Linked DNA regions of Homo sapiens: regions 1, 3 and 4 are each linked to region 2. The links are contacts of gene promoters, found by promoter capture Hi-C in blood cells and fetal thymus (Javierre and others, 2016). All regions are on one chromosome and are shown on one strand. Each heading gives the region's core, a stretch centred on a gene start or on the middle of the fragment in contact. The rest is flanking DNA. Distances are from core to core; before and after follow the strand shown. Region 1 holds the start of SASH3 (SAM and SH3 domain containing 3). Region 2 holds the start of DOCK11 (dedicator of cytokinesis 11). Region 3 holds the start of STK26 (serine/threonine kinase 26). Region 4 overlaps ARHGEF6 (Rac/Cdc42 guanine nucleotide exchange factor 6).

The links. The method cuts DNA at HindIII sites, captures the fragments that hold promoters and counts their contacts. A CHiCAGO score of 5 or more calls a contact.
Region 1: a contact is called between a fragment that was not itself captured here and the fragment with the promoter of DOCK11 in region 2, in 1 of 17 cell types (activated CD4 T cells). The highest score is 5.7, in activated CD4 T cells.
Region 3: the fragment with the promoter of STK26 here is called in contact with the fragment with the promoter of DOCK11 in region 2 in 1 of 17 cell types (activated CD4 T cells); the score reaches 13.4 in activated CD4 T cells.
Region 4: a fragment that was not itself captured here is called in contact with the fragment with the promoter of DOCK11 in region 2 in 1 of 17 cell types (non-activated CD4 T cells); the score reaches 6.6 in non-activated CD4 T cells.

What each region holds. Positions count from the first base shown.
Region 1 is chrX:129,777,862-129,780,561 of GRCh38, reverse strand. It overlaps SASH3 (SAM and SH3 domain containing 3), which reads right to left and starts at 613. Exons shown (of 8, transcript NM_018990.4): 1 at 408-613. The coding sequence starts at 464. It overlaps LOC124905215 (a long non-coding RNA gene), which reads left to right. Exons shown (of 2, transcript XR_007068328.1): 2 at 283-1,987. RefSeq lists enhancers at 263-322, 373-452, 703-862. The HindIII fragment of the contact is 1,089 bases long and covers 725-1,813 here.
Region 2 is chrX:118,494,559-118,497,258 of GRCh38, reverse strand. DOCK11 (dedicator of cytokinesis 11) reads right to left here and starts at 1,444. Exons shown (of 53, transcript NM_144658.4): 1 at 1,186-1,444. The coding sequence starts at 1,287. RefSeq lists silencers at 917-976, 1,147-1,206, 1,297-1,376, 1,487-1,626 and enhancers at 656-1,634, 2,037-2,106. The HindIII fragment of the contact is 5,195 bases long and covers 1-2,700 here.
Region 3 is chrX:132,022,045-132,024,744 of GRCh38, reverse strand. STK26 (serine/threonine kinase 26) reads right to left here and starts at 1,443. Exons shown (of 12, transcript NM_016542.4): 1 at 1,338-1,443; 2 at 1,086-1,237. The coding sequence starts at 1,127. RefSeq lists enhancers at 762-831, 801-1,348, 1,202-1,361, 1,812-1,861, 1,349-1,895 and a silencer at 1,402-1,651. The HindIII fragment of the contact is 2,994 bases long and covers 408-2,700 here.
Region 4 is chrX:136,678,107-136,680,806 of GRCh38, reverse strand. ARHGEF6 (Rac/Cdc42 guanine nucleotide exchange factor 6) reads left to right here. Exons shown (of 22, transcript NM_004840.3): 15 at 1-76; 16 at 1,147-1,272. Among named protein-coding and RNA genes, the nearest start is that of CD40LG, 31 kb to the right of the region's middle. The HindIII fragment of the contact is 3,252 bases long and covers 1-2,700 here.

The DNA of each region.
Region 1 (2,700 bases), core at 20-2,519, about 11 Mb before region 2:
TGAGAGGCCGTGGCCGGGGCAGAAGTGGCAGCAGGACCAGCGTAGAGGAGAGATAGTTAAGTACAAGCTTAGGGTTCAGCTTAAGCATTGTATTTTGTTATTCTCAAATTCTAGTCTAAGATTCTGGCCCCTAATTTTAGATCTTTTTTCCCATTCTTCTAGGGTTGAATTGCATGACTCTAGATTTCTAAGGATCTATTCTGTAACTCTGTTGCTCCAGAATTTTAAACATCTCTTCTGTACTTCTGTTAACCTTTGGGTCCCTGTCCCGTTGCCTTCTAGGTGAGTGGCCCTCACCTACAGACTCAACATATGGCCTTTGGCTCTTCCCACTTCCAAGAGTCTTGGAAGGGATGGGTCGAGCAAGCAGAGGAAAGGAAGATGTGAGTTCCCAAAATGCTCCTCACCTTTTTCTTCTGAGTGGGCTCCTTCTCACTGGCATTGGAGGGCTTGCGGCGCAGCATGGTCCTCCACCCTGGGAGACTCCGTCCCTGCTCTCCTAGGTGTCAAGATGCAGAGGCCTCTTGCTTAGCCTCACCAGAACTGCCCGGGGGCACGGCATGAACCGAGCCTTCAGCTGCCACTCTGACTGCTGCAGTGGCAGCTTGGGGGTGCGGGCCATGGACACCCGGCAGCAGCAGCATACAGGAAGCCCTGCCACGTGACCTACTCTTACAGCAATCGCAGCCCCTGCCGGCCCCTAGGGAGGAAGGAAGTCCAAGCTTCAGTCTCCAGAGATTCTGATGCAGACGGCTCTTGGGTTGAACAGTCAGAGAAAGTCCCTACCTTGTTGTCTCATGTCGATCATCATCAGTCCTTCTGCTCCATCTTCCTAGAGGTGGACAATCAGCTCGACATTATATGGCGTACCCAAGCCCTTTATCTCACTGACCAGAATCCAGAAACCAGAAGTTGGACCATCTGGCTGCCTGTTGGATCAATGCTCCCGGTCAACTCACGTCTTCAAGGTCGTCACTGCCATCACTACCACTACCATCACCCCTGTGACCATCACCACTGCTACCATCACTCCTATCAATAGCCATCACCATACAGCCATCACCCCTACAGCCATCAGGCCTGCAGCCATCCCCGCTGCCATCAGCACACCTATAGCCATTGTCACTATGGTAATCACCTCTACAGTTGACATCCTTCAGCCATCACCTCTACAGTCATCACCATTGCTGCTATCACCCTTCCAGCCATCATCCTTACAGCTGTCACCCTTCTGGACATTACAGCCAACCGCACTCATGACCCTCTCACCCCTATAACCATCGTCCCTACAGTCATCTCTCCTACAACCATCATCACATCCGTGCAGCCATCAGCCCTGCAGCCATCACTCCTACAGCCATCAGTACACCTAAAGCCATCATCACTAGAGCAGTCACCCCTCCAGTCAGTACCCCTCAGCCATCATGAGTATATTTATCACCACCACAGCTGAAAAGCACTTACAGCCAACTCCACACCTCTAGCAAGTATCCAACAGGCATTTATCAAACACCTATGCAGTATATTCAATTTGTGGGTTGTCTGTGGCAGATTTTAATAACTTTAATAACTTCTTGGTATTACAAAAGCAACTTGTATTTGTCATACAATTTCACAAACACATAAACAAAAAAAATTTCAAAATTTCCCATCATTGTCCTCTACACTGTTTTAAGCATCTATCTACTCTCTGTCTATAAACATTTTTTTTCTTTTTACAAAAATCATACTGCTCAGAAAACAGATAATTGGTTTGGGGAGAAGGGGAGGGGAGAGAAGGGAAGGGAGACATCACACAGGGTAACAGGAAGCTTTTAGGAGTGATGAATATGTTCACTATCTTGACTGTGGTGATGATTTCATGGGGGAATACACATGTCAAAACGTATCAAATTGTATACTTCAAATATGTGCAGTTTATTGTAGCTCCATTATACCTCAATAAAGCTGTTTAAAATTTTTTAATTAAAAAAGGTCATAATTCACACTATTGGTGTCTGCTTTTCACACTAAACACAGTATCTTTTTTGTTTTTTTTTCGAGATGGAGTCTCTCACTCTGTCTCCCAGGCTGGAGTGCAGTGGCGTGATCTCGGCTCACTGCAACCTCCACCTCCTGAGTTCAAGCAATTCTTGTGCCTCTGCCTCCCAAGTAGCTGGGACTATAGGTGCGTACCACCACCCTGGTTAATTTTTGTATTTTTTGTAGAGACAGGGTTTCACCATGTTGCCCAGGCTGGTCTTGAACTCCTGGTCTCAAGTGACCTCTTTGCCTCATCCTCCCAAAGTGCTGGGATTACAGGCGTGAGCCACTACGTCCAGCTGAACACAGTATCAAGATTGTCTCATGCTATGAAATAGTCTTCAACTACGTAATTTATAACGGCTGTGGAACATCCCATTGTGTGGATGTGCCGTGCTTATTTCACCAAGCCCTTGCTGATGAACTTGGGTTGGCTTAAATTTTTAAATTATTCATTGAACATACTTATGGTAAATATTCACATCCATAGTTTTTTTTCTGTAGGGGAAATATCCAGAAGAGGAATTGCTGGGGTCAAAGGTATGCACATTTTTAAGGCTTTCAATTCTGTGGTACTTGTGAAATACTAGGCTTGTCCACCCCTGTTCCCAAGATGTTCTCGTGACTTCCTCTCCGATTCTGCTTTATGCCCTCTGACCATCCAACCTTCAGGGTGAG
Region 2 (2,700 bases), core at 195-2,694:
CAAGGAAAAGCTGTGAAGTTCCCTTCCGATGACAAGTTGTTTTAACAAAAAGAGCCCTCTCTTAAACGGTGAAATTTAAACACAGCAAACGACTCGCTGTAAAATGGAGCTGAGGGAGACAAAAACAAACAAAAACAACAACCAAAAAACAAAGTAACAAAACAAACACTAATTAATCAGTCCGATTGCTTATTCAGGGTTTGTTCGCTTGTCCAGGAAACTGGCAACGAGTGTCTTGAAAACAAGAGAAGGGGCAAGTGCCCGTTAGCACCCTTTAGCCTTTCTCCAGAGTCAGACAATCTGGATAAGGCTGAGGGTGCTCTGGGAGGGTTCCCAGGGAGTCAGCGCGCTTTCGAATCCCCATCCCCCAGTCCTGAGCTGTGGGGCTCTGACCCCAGGTCCTCCATCCCTGGACTGACACACCCAGTCTTCCCCCAAATCCCCACGGCACCGTCCCCTTGGTCCCCTTGCCTCTGGAGCGCTCGCGTGTCCCCGAGGGACACACTCTCCCTGCGGTGGATGACCCTGCGCCCACTCTGTCGCAGAACCCCGTTGTTTCTAATGCCCTTCCTCCGCAGCAGCACCCCTTCAACACCCATCACCACCCTCTCTCCCCAGTTGCAGGAGGAAGTCGCTCTGCTTCCTCTGTTCTCACCGCCAGCCCGAGCTTGGGCGCCCGGGGCTTTCTGGGTGGGGTTCTTTTTTGTGTACACAGTGTGTGTATGTGTGCGCGCGAGAGTGTGTGTGCCAAACGCTCATCGCATCCTTCCGCCTAGGCGGCCTCAGGTGCTCGCGGGAGGGGATCAGGATCTCGTCGTGCCCTTGTCCCCGGCTCTTTGTGCCGAGTCCAGAGCAGCGCGAGGTCAGCTCTTTAGCTCACACCCCCGGCCCCGACCCTGGGTGGGAGCCTCCGCCTCCGCCTCCTCCGCAGCCGTCCGAGCCCGGCTTTTGCCCGTCTGCTTCCATCCCGGCGCACGCCTCCGCCGTGCCGGGCGGCCGGAGAGCTGTCAGCCGGCGCCTGGGACTCGGACCCCGGCCGGCGGCTGCCGGTGCGAAAACTTACTGGAGCGGAGAAAGACAGCGCGCGGCGCACCAAGCGGCCGCACTGGCGCCGTTCCTGCCCCTTCCCGCGTCGCTCCCGCCTGGAGCGCGTCCCCCGGGATGCCCCGTCCCCCGGCCACTCACCAGCACCACGGAGCCCCGCACGGCCTCAGACACGCTCTGCCGGAGCTCAGCCGCCGTGCCAGGCTTGCTGAGCCGTTTGGTGAATTTGCGCACTTCGGCCATGGCAGCGGCGGCGGGCGGGTCTCGGCGGGCGGGCGGACCTCGGCGGGCGGGTGGACTCACTGCCCCGGCCCGCGGCGGCCGCGGCCGCTGCTGCTCCCTCTGTTTACTCGCCGGCCGGCCGGCCACATCGCAGCTCGGCGGCGGCGCGGCTCACGCTGCTCCTCCCTCCCACCTCCCACCCGCTGCTCCTCCCTCGTTCCCTCCTTCCCTCCTTTTCTCGCTCGCTTCGCCCGCTCACTGTCCTGCCCCACGGCGTCGGCGGCGGCAGCTCCCTCCCCTAGAGGGCCCGAGCTCCGATCGCCACCAGCCGAAGCAGGAGGGTGTGTCTGATGGGGAAGGGTGTGTAGAGGGGGAGGGAGAACTGGAGGTGGGGGCGAGGGTCACGAGGGAAGAGGGGGGAAGTGGCTACCGCTCGGGCTCCGCCCGCAGCTGATGTTGCTGGTGCAGCCGCATCCGGGAGGGGAGATCTGGGCTGCTTCTTTTTTTCCGCTTGAGTGGGGAGGGCGGGGTGGGGTGGGGGAACAGAGAGGGGTGATGAAATGTCTCCAAGAGTGGGGCGTGCTCCTCTCCCGCCCTAGTGCTCCTCTCCCGCCTCCGAGCTGCAGTGCCCGCAGGAGGGCTGGAGAACTCTCACGTCCCTCCACCCCGCAAGCCCCCAGGGCCCAGGCGGCTAGGGGCTGGAAAACAACGTGGAGCAGCCGCCTTTTGTGTGCTCCTTGGGGAAGGGTCGCACCAATGTCGAAGGACAGAGAGCTGCTTTCCAGCGTGAGCGGCTCGACTGGGTCCCCCTCCTCGCCCACACCGTTTTCCTACTCAGTTGGCTCACCTAACAGGGGGCAACACTGGGGAGAGAGCATGCTTCTGGAAGTGGGAACTTATTGTGGCGGCACCCCTCGCTCCGTCCCCCACGGGGGAGAGCTGGGTGGTGGAGCCTGAGCCTGTGGCAGGTGATCCCTAGGTCAGCACTGACTGCACCAGGAGTGGGGTGGGGGTGGGCATTAGGATGAGCCTGTGGCAGGTGATCCCTAGGTCAGCACTGACTGCACCAGGAGTGGGGTGGGGGTGGGCATTAGGAAGGCCATCTCCCTGGGTTTGGTGGACTTACCAATCTTATAGTAGCTTTTACAAGTGCCCTGCACTCACCTCTCCATTTCCTATTCATCTCCTTACTCTTTTCAGCTTCCAAGAAATTGTTTTTCCAAGAATCAAAGAACATCTCATAACAGGGTATAAAACGAACATGCTTAAGACAGAAATAGGGACGGGAATCTTGAAGTACTAGTGACCCTGTCAGACCTCCTGAAGTGCAGAGTGAAAGGCTCCACTGATGGTGGCAGTTTTCTATCTGGTTATTTCATTTGTTGAGAGTTTGAAAATGGCCCTCAGTCTGGGGGACCGAGCAGCCCTTCTGAA
Region 3 (2,700 bases), core at 194-2,693, about 14 Mb before region 2:
TATCAATAAGTAAATTGAGGCCCCAGTCTACAGCTCTTTGATTTCTACTAGAAATATAAGCTATTTACTATAAACATTTTATTTTTGAACTTCAAAAAAGTTTGTTTTCACATTTTAGATCATGAAAGACTGAGGCTTCAGTGGTTTTAGCCCCTAAATGGGTTGTTTAGGCCATCTAGCAAAGGAAAAAAAAATAGAACATGAATGCTTTAAAAAGTTAGTAAATTTGGATAACACTTAGCAGATAGCCTAAAATGCACCGATTTAAAAACATAACAGCATAAAAAGTTTTCTGACATAGCTTATCTTTAATAAAATGAAAATATAATGGGAGGGGGTTGGGCTGGGTAGACTTCGAGTAACAAGTTGGGTCCCATGCAGTAGTCCCTTGTCCAAGACAAAAAGCTTCCTTTAACCACATGTAACAGTCATCTTGTGGGAAAGGCACGGAGGGGGCTGAGAAGTCATCACCTCAGTGACTCTGAACAGAACCAGCATTTCTCACGCCACACTATGGGCTGGGCTAGGTCGGGGAGCAAGCTACAACTTTGCCCTTAAGCAGCAGTACCGAAAGGGAGAAAGAGGTCACCTCTCTCTTAGCCCTACGCACACAGGAAGAGCCCAATTCAAGCCGCCGCCGCCGCCACCCCTGGTGTTGCCCCGCCCCAACTTGAGTGTGTGTTTGGGGTGGGGGGTGTAGGGCACTCACTACTCGCGTTATACCCCACAAATTCCAAGGCACTTCCATCTCTCCCAGGTTAAGTTCCGCCCCCCCATCCCCAACCGTGCCAAGCTCAGCAGGCGCAGGTGTCTGTGGCTCTGGCCTATTTTTATACCCCCAACCGCCCTCAATCTCCACCTAGTTGCGCGCTCCAGTCCCGCCTCGCCTTCCCAGCGAAGAGCACTACCTAGCCTACACACCAGGAAACACCTCCAGCCCTACTCCCAGGTCACCTGGCCATAGTGACCGGCCCTGCCCTCAGGGGAGCCCTGGGGCCGTCCCTTGTCGCCGGTGCCCAGCACCGAGGGCGCACCGGGCTCCCAAGCAGTCACGTGGGCGGCGGGGGCGGCCTGCGCTTCCTCACCTGCATCCCAGGCACTTGGACAGCCACCGGCGAGTGGGCCATGGAGGCGAATGCTGCCTCGCTCCGCTTCTGCGGCGGTGGCGCCTTGGGTTCGGACTGGCTCCTCCCTCCGGGGGTAGTTCGGCGGCCCTCCCAGGCTTTTCGATCGGGGCCTGGGAGGACACACAAAAGTGGGGTTACTGGGCTGGCGGCGCGTAGCCCGGGGCTAGGAGGTGGGCTGTTAGCGGCGCAGCTCCCTGGGACTCAGTCTACCTTTCTGGCGCCCGCCCGCCGCTGAAGCAGCCGCCTCCGCTGCTGCTCCTCTTCCTGAACGCCGAGCGCTGTGAGTGGTGGTGGCTGGGACCTGGGCTCGAGTGATGCCGCTCCTCTGCGCCTCGCCGCTTTAGGAAGAGGAGGTGGAGGCGCCCCAGCCACCCGCCTGCTCGCCTGGCCTGGGAGGCGGTTGGGGGCGGTTCCGCCGTTGGCCCTGCCCCCGCCCCGCAGCCGGGCGGTGTCGCGGGAGCCAAGGCTCCAGGCAGCGAAGAGGTTTGGCTGGGGTTGCTGGAGTCTGAGAAGCTGGAGACTCTCCCGGCACGCGGAGAGGAGAACCCGGGGACCCGGAGACCTGGGACATGGCTGGGCCTGGGAAGAGAATGGAAGAGTTTGGGAAACCCTGAGGGTATGAGGGCGCCCCAGATGCGGCCACGTTGCAGGGAGGCGTGCGAGGCTGGGGCACACGCAGCCTCGGAGACGACTTGAGCTGAAACTTGGGGAGTGTTGGAAGTCTTTCTTGGCTCCCCGGCCTGGCCAAGGGTAGGATTACAGATAGCCGCGGAGTCGGTGGACCCCCGCTTTTTCCCGCCATCTGGTCTCCTCAGCTGGGGGTCGCGCCTCTGGGCAGATCTGTGGCCACACTCTTGCTTTCCGAGTTCCCTGACCCCAAACATGCTTCAGGTGACTTCAACTTAAGGTTCCCCCTACCTCCTGGGCTATCCCTTGCAGAACGGCCAAACTAGGGCTTCTCTCTACCACAAGTTCTGCACGTGTAAGGCAGAGGGAAATTGGAAAACAGATGGTACATCGGCAGAAAAATTAATGAGGATAGTAGAGGCTTGGGAAATGAGATTGGATCGTTAGCAGTACAGGTTATTGAAATCAGCATACACTGCAGTGGTTTTGGTAACTCCCTGCCTCCGCCCCATTTTAAGTTCTACTCCAGGAGAGGGAGACAGGCTCTTTTGAGAGTACTCTAACAGTAGCGACAGTAACACTGGTAATAATAGTAACAGGAATTTCATTATGAAGGCACCTTTGGGAACACGTAAGGGGTTAATTACTTTTTAAAAAAGTAATAGTCGAGTGCCAGTTTAAAATGAAGATGAAGTTCCTTACCTTGAAATTTGTTATGGGTCTCTACGCACCACACGGTGGGGGGCCTCTAGTGGTAAAAGATAGTTTCTCTTCTTCCTTTTAAATCTTTTTCAGAGAATAGTATATAATTCTTATCAATATCGTTATTATTAATGGATATTATTTTCATTGTGCCAGGGACTGCTAAGTGCTTTCTATGTGTTATTAATACCTTACTGAACCTGTACAAGGGCCTTCTGGAGTCTTATTGATTTCCCCTCATTTT
Region 4 (2,700 bases), core at 69-2,568, about 18 Mb before region 2:
GAACAGACTGATCAGAGGACCTGCCTCTTGCAGTTCATTATCCAAAACCTCATCGTCATCATGTAGTGCTCATTCTGTAAGTAGTCCATGTGTTCTGTCCAGAGATTATTGAGTCTTTCGTCAACTCCTGCCTGCTGGAGACTTACAAGAAGCAGCGAGCACACCCTTAGTCTTTTGGGCAGCCTATATTTGTAGATTTTGAAGTACAGTTAAACCTCACTCATTCTGATTTCTCATTATGAGGCCCATCCAAATTAATGAAAAGGTTTACTTAGAGTGTGCAGTTCTGTTTGACAGTATTCAGATACCCCAACTAACTGCTAGCAAAGTATTTCTAACCAGAAGTCCTGCTAAAATATTTTAATGATAAGCAAGGCTTATTTCCATGAGCAATGGTTATTCTCCTACTAACAGTGGGCTAAGTCGAAACAAATAGTTTACCTCCCTAAGTACTTAAACATCTCCATGTCATCTCACTCATGCTCTCACATTTGCTCAGTAACCTTCTTCAAAGGTAAACTTTTAGCATTATCTCCTTCTGAGTTATCACAAATTTAGACATTGGAATTTGAATTGATGAGATTTTACTGTACTTGCTGAGTGAGATGGAAGATATGCTGTGTTGTTTGTTAACATACAAACCTATGATGCCAAAATTCCAGTTTTGAGGACTGTGTGTTGTGGTTGGAAGAATATGGACTTTGGCTTCAGATCTGGGTTCAAATCTTGGCTTTGCCAATTACTAGTTAGTTGCTTCCCTTGACTGAGTCTATGTCTTAGGCTGTTCTCATGAAATAACCTATTTAAGCACCTACTAGAGTGCCAAACATATCACTGAACTCAAATGTTGACTGCTACTCCATTTTCCTTCCTTACAGAGGAAAGAAAATTAAATTAATTAAATTCCAGATGAGAAAGAGAGGACAGGATCATGGAATGTTGAGTCAATTTTGTGCTGTTTCTTAGAGACCCGATAATCTGGACTGGAAAGAACCAGTTCTCAAACTAGAGACTTTTGTTTTTCCATCTATCCCTTTCTATGGCTGTCTTTGCTAATCCAATGAAGCTATTGTTGTTCTCTCACTGTGTGGCACAAGGTCGGGTTCAGATGGCAGATTGCCAACATCTCATCAGACATTTTCCCAGTCTTTTAGCTCTACCGGACAGCCCCGAGGACCCTTGGAGCCTCCTCAAATTATAAAACCGTGGAGTTTAAGTTGTCTACGACCTGCACCTCCACTTAGACCATCAGCAGCACTAGGTTATAAAGAGGTAATTTTGCTACCTATGGTATAAAATGCTTCTGACAAGTTAATTTCGTAGCTTATTACAAATAGTTCTGTGGGAATGTGCTAGAATTTAAGATAGATGGTATTATGTGAGTCAGTCTTGAATTGCCAGACTCAGTGATTTGTTTGATTTCTTAATTTTCCATTTCCCATTGTCCATCTGCAAATATGTACTGAATATCTACAGGATCTATGTGCACTGCCTGAGTGTTCCCAGTCTCCTCCTGAAGTGCCTCTGGTTTACCTTAATGATTATTATGATAATCCTTTAGATTTGTTAATAATGTACACAAATCTCAAACAAGAGCCACTTCATTGTAGTTGAGTTGCCAATGAAGCAGACTTAATTCAGCATTTGGGATCATTTTGATCAATTTGAACCAAATTAGTAAAGTGTTATGGGACCAAGCTATGAGTCCAAACTATAAAAGTGATATTTGCTGCAATTGGAATGAGAAAAGAATTTGATGAAAGCAGTGTCTTTTAAAAAGAGGCTTCTCAGAGACAACCTTAAAGGCCATTTGATATTTGGGTAGTGTGGGGATTTAAAGGTTTTGTGTATTTTTTTTTTCTCTCAAAGTTGCAGTCAGGAAGTGTCACTCACTAGCTTCTGTAACTGTGTGGAGTATTACTTTTCCATCCAAACAGTGGCTTTATCCCTAACCTGTCTCAAATCATTTCAGATTTCAGAAATGATGCTCATTTATTAGTAACTGTTCTTTAAATTGGTCTTGTTGAGTGAAGATTAAGTTTGTGACAGTTATGAGATGAGTCTTAGAATTATGGGGCAAAGGTGGCTTATATTTCTATATCAAACGTGTGTTTTGATGAGTGATGCAGACTTAGCTCAATTTTGAGTGTTTTGATTGAAACCACCATGCTTTTGTTTCGATTAATTGTTGCTACCAACTCTAAGTGCAGTAAAAATAGGACAATATTTGGACACTGGAGGATTTTTTGATCCTTTCAACTTGACATGATAGGACAAACAACCCTCGAACTGAATCTTTGTTATATAACTCTATTTAGAATTTGGTCAGGAAGCAGTCCCACAGATTTGCTTTGGAAATTTACGTGCAATTCTTGCAATCATCCAATTTTCTTCTTTGATTATGTAAACCAGGAGTGCCACTTGATAGTTACCTAGGCCCCCTTTTTAATGATGGATATTTTGTAATTATCAGTTACTAAGTTCAAATTAAGGGTGAGCTTTGAAGAGTAAAGTTGACTTAATCCTTCACAAAACTAATCTATTAAAACTAAGGCATGATCACTTTGTTTCTGCTGGGGGAAGAGAGTTATTAATATATTCCTACTAGATAGTATGTATTTCAGTTGTTTTCAGCATTTGTTATTCTGCACAGAACTGTATTCCTCGGGCTTTTGCATGATAATATTGCATCTGAAACTA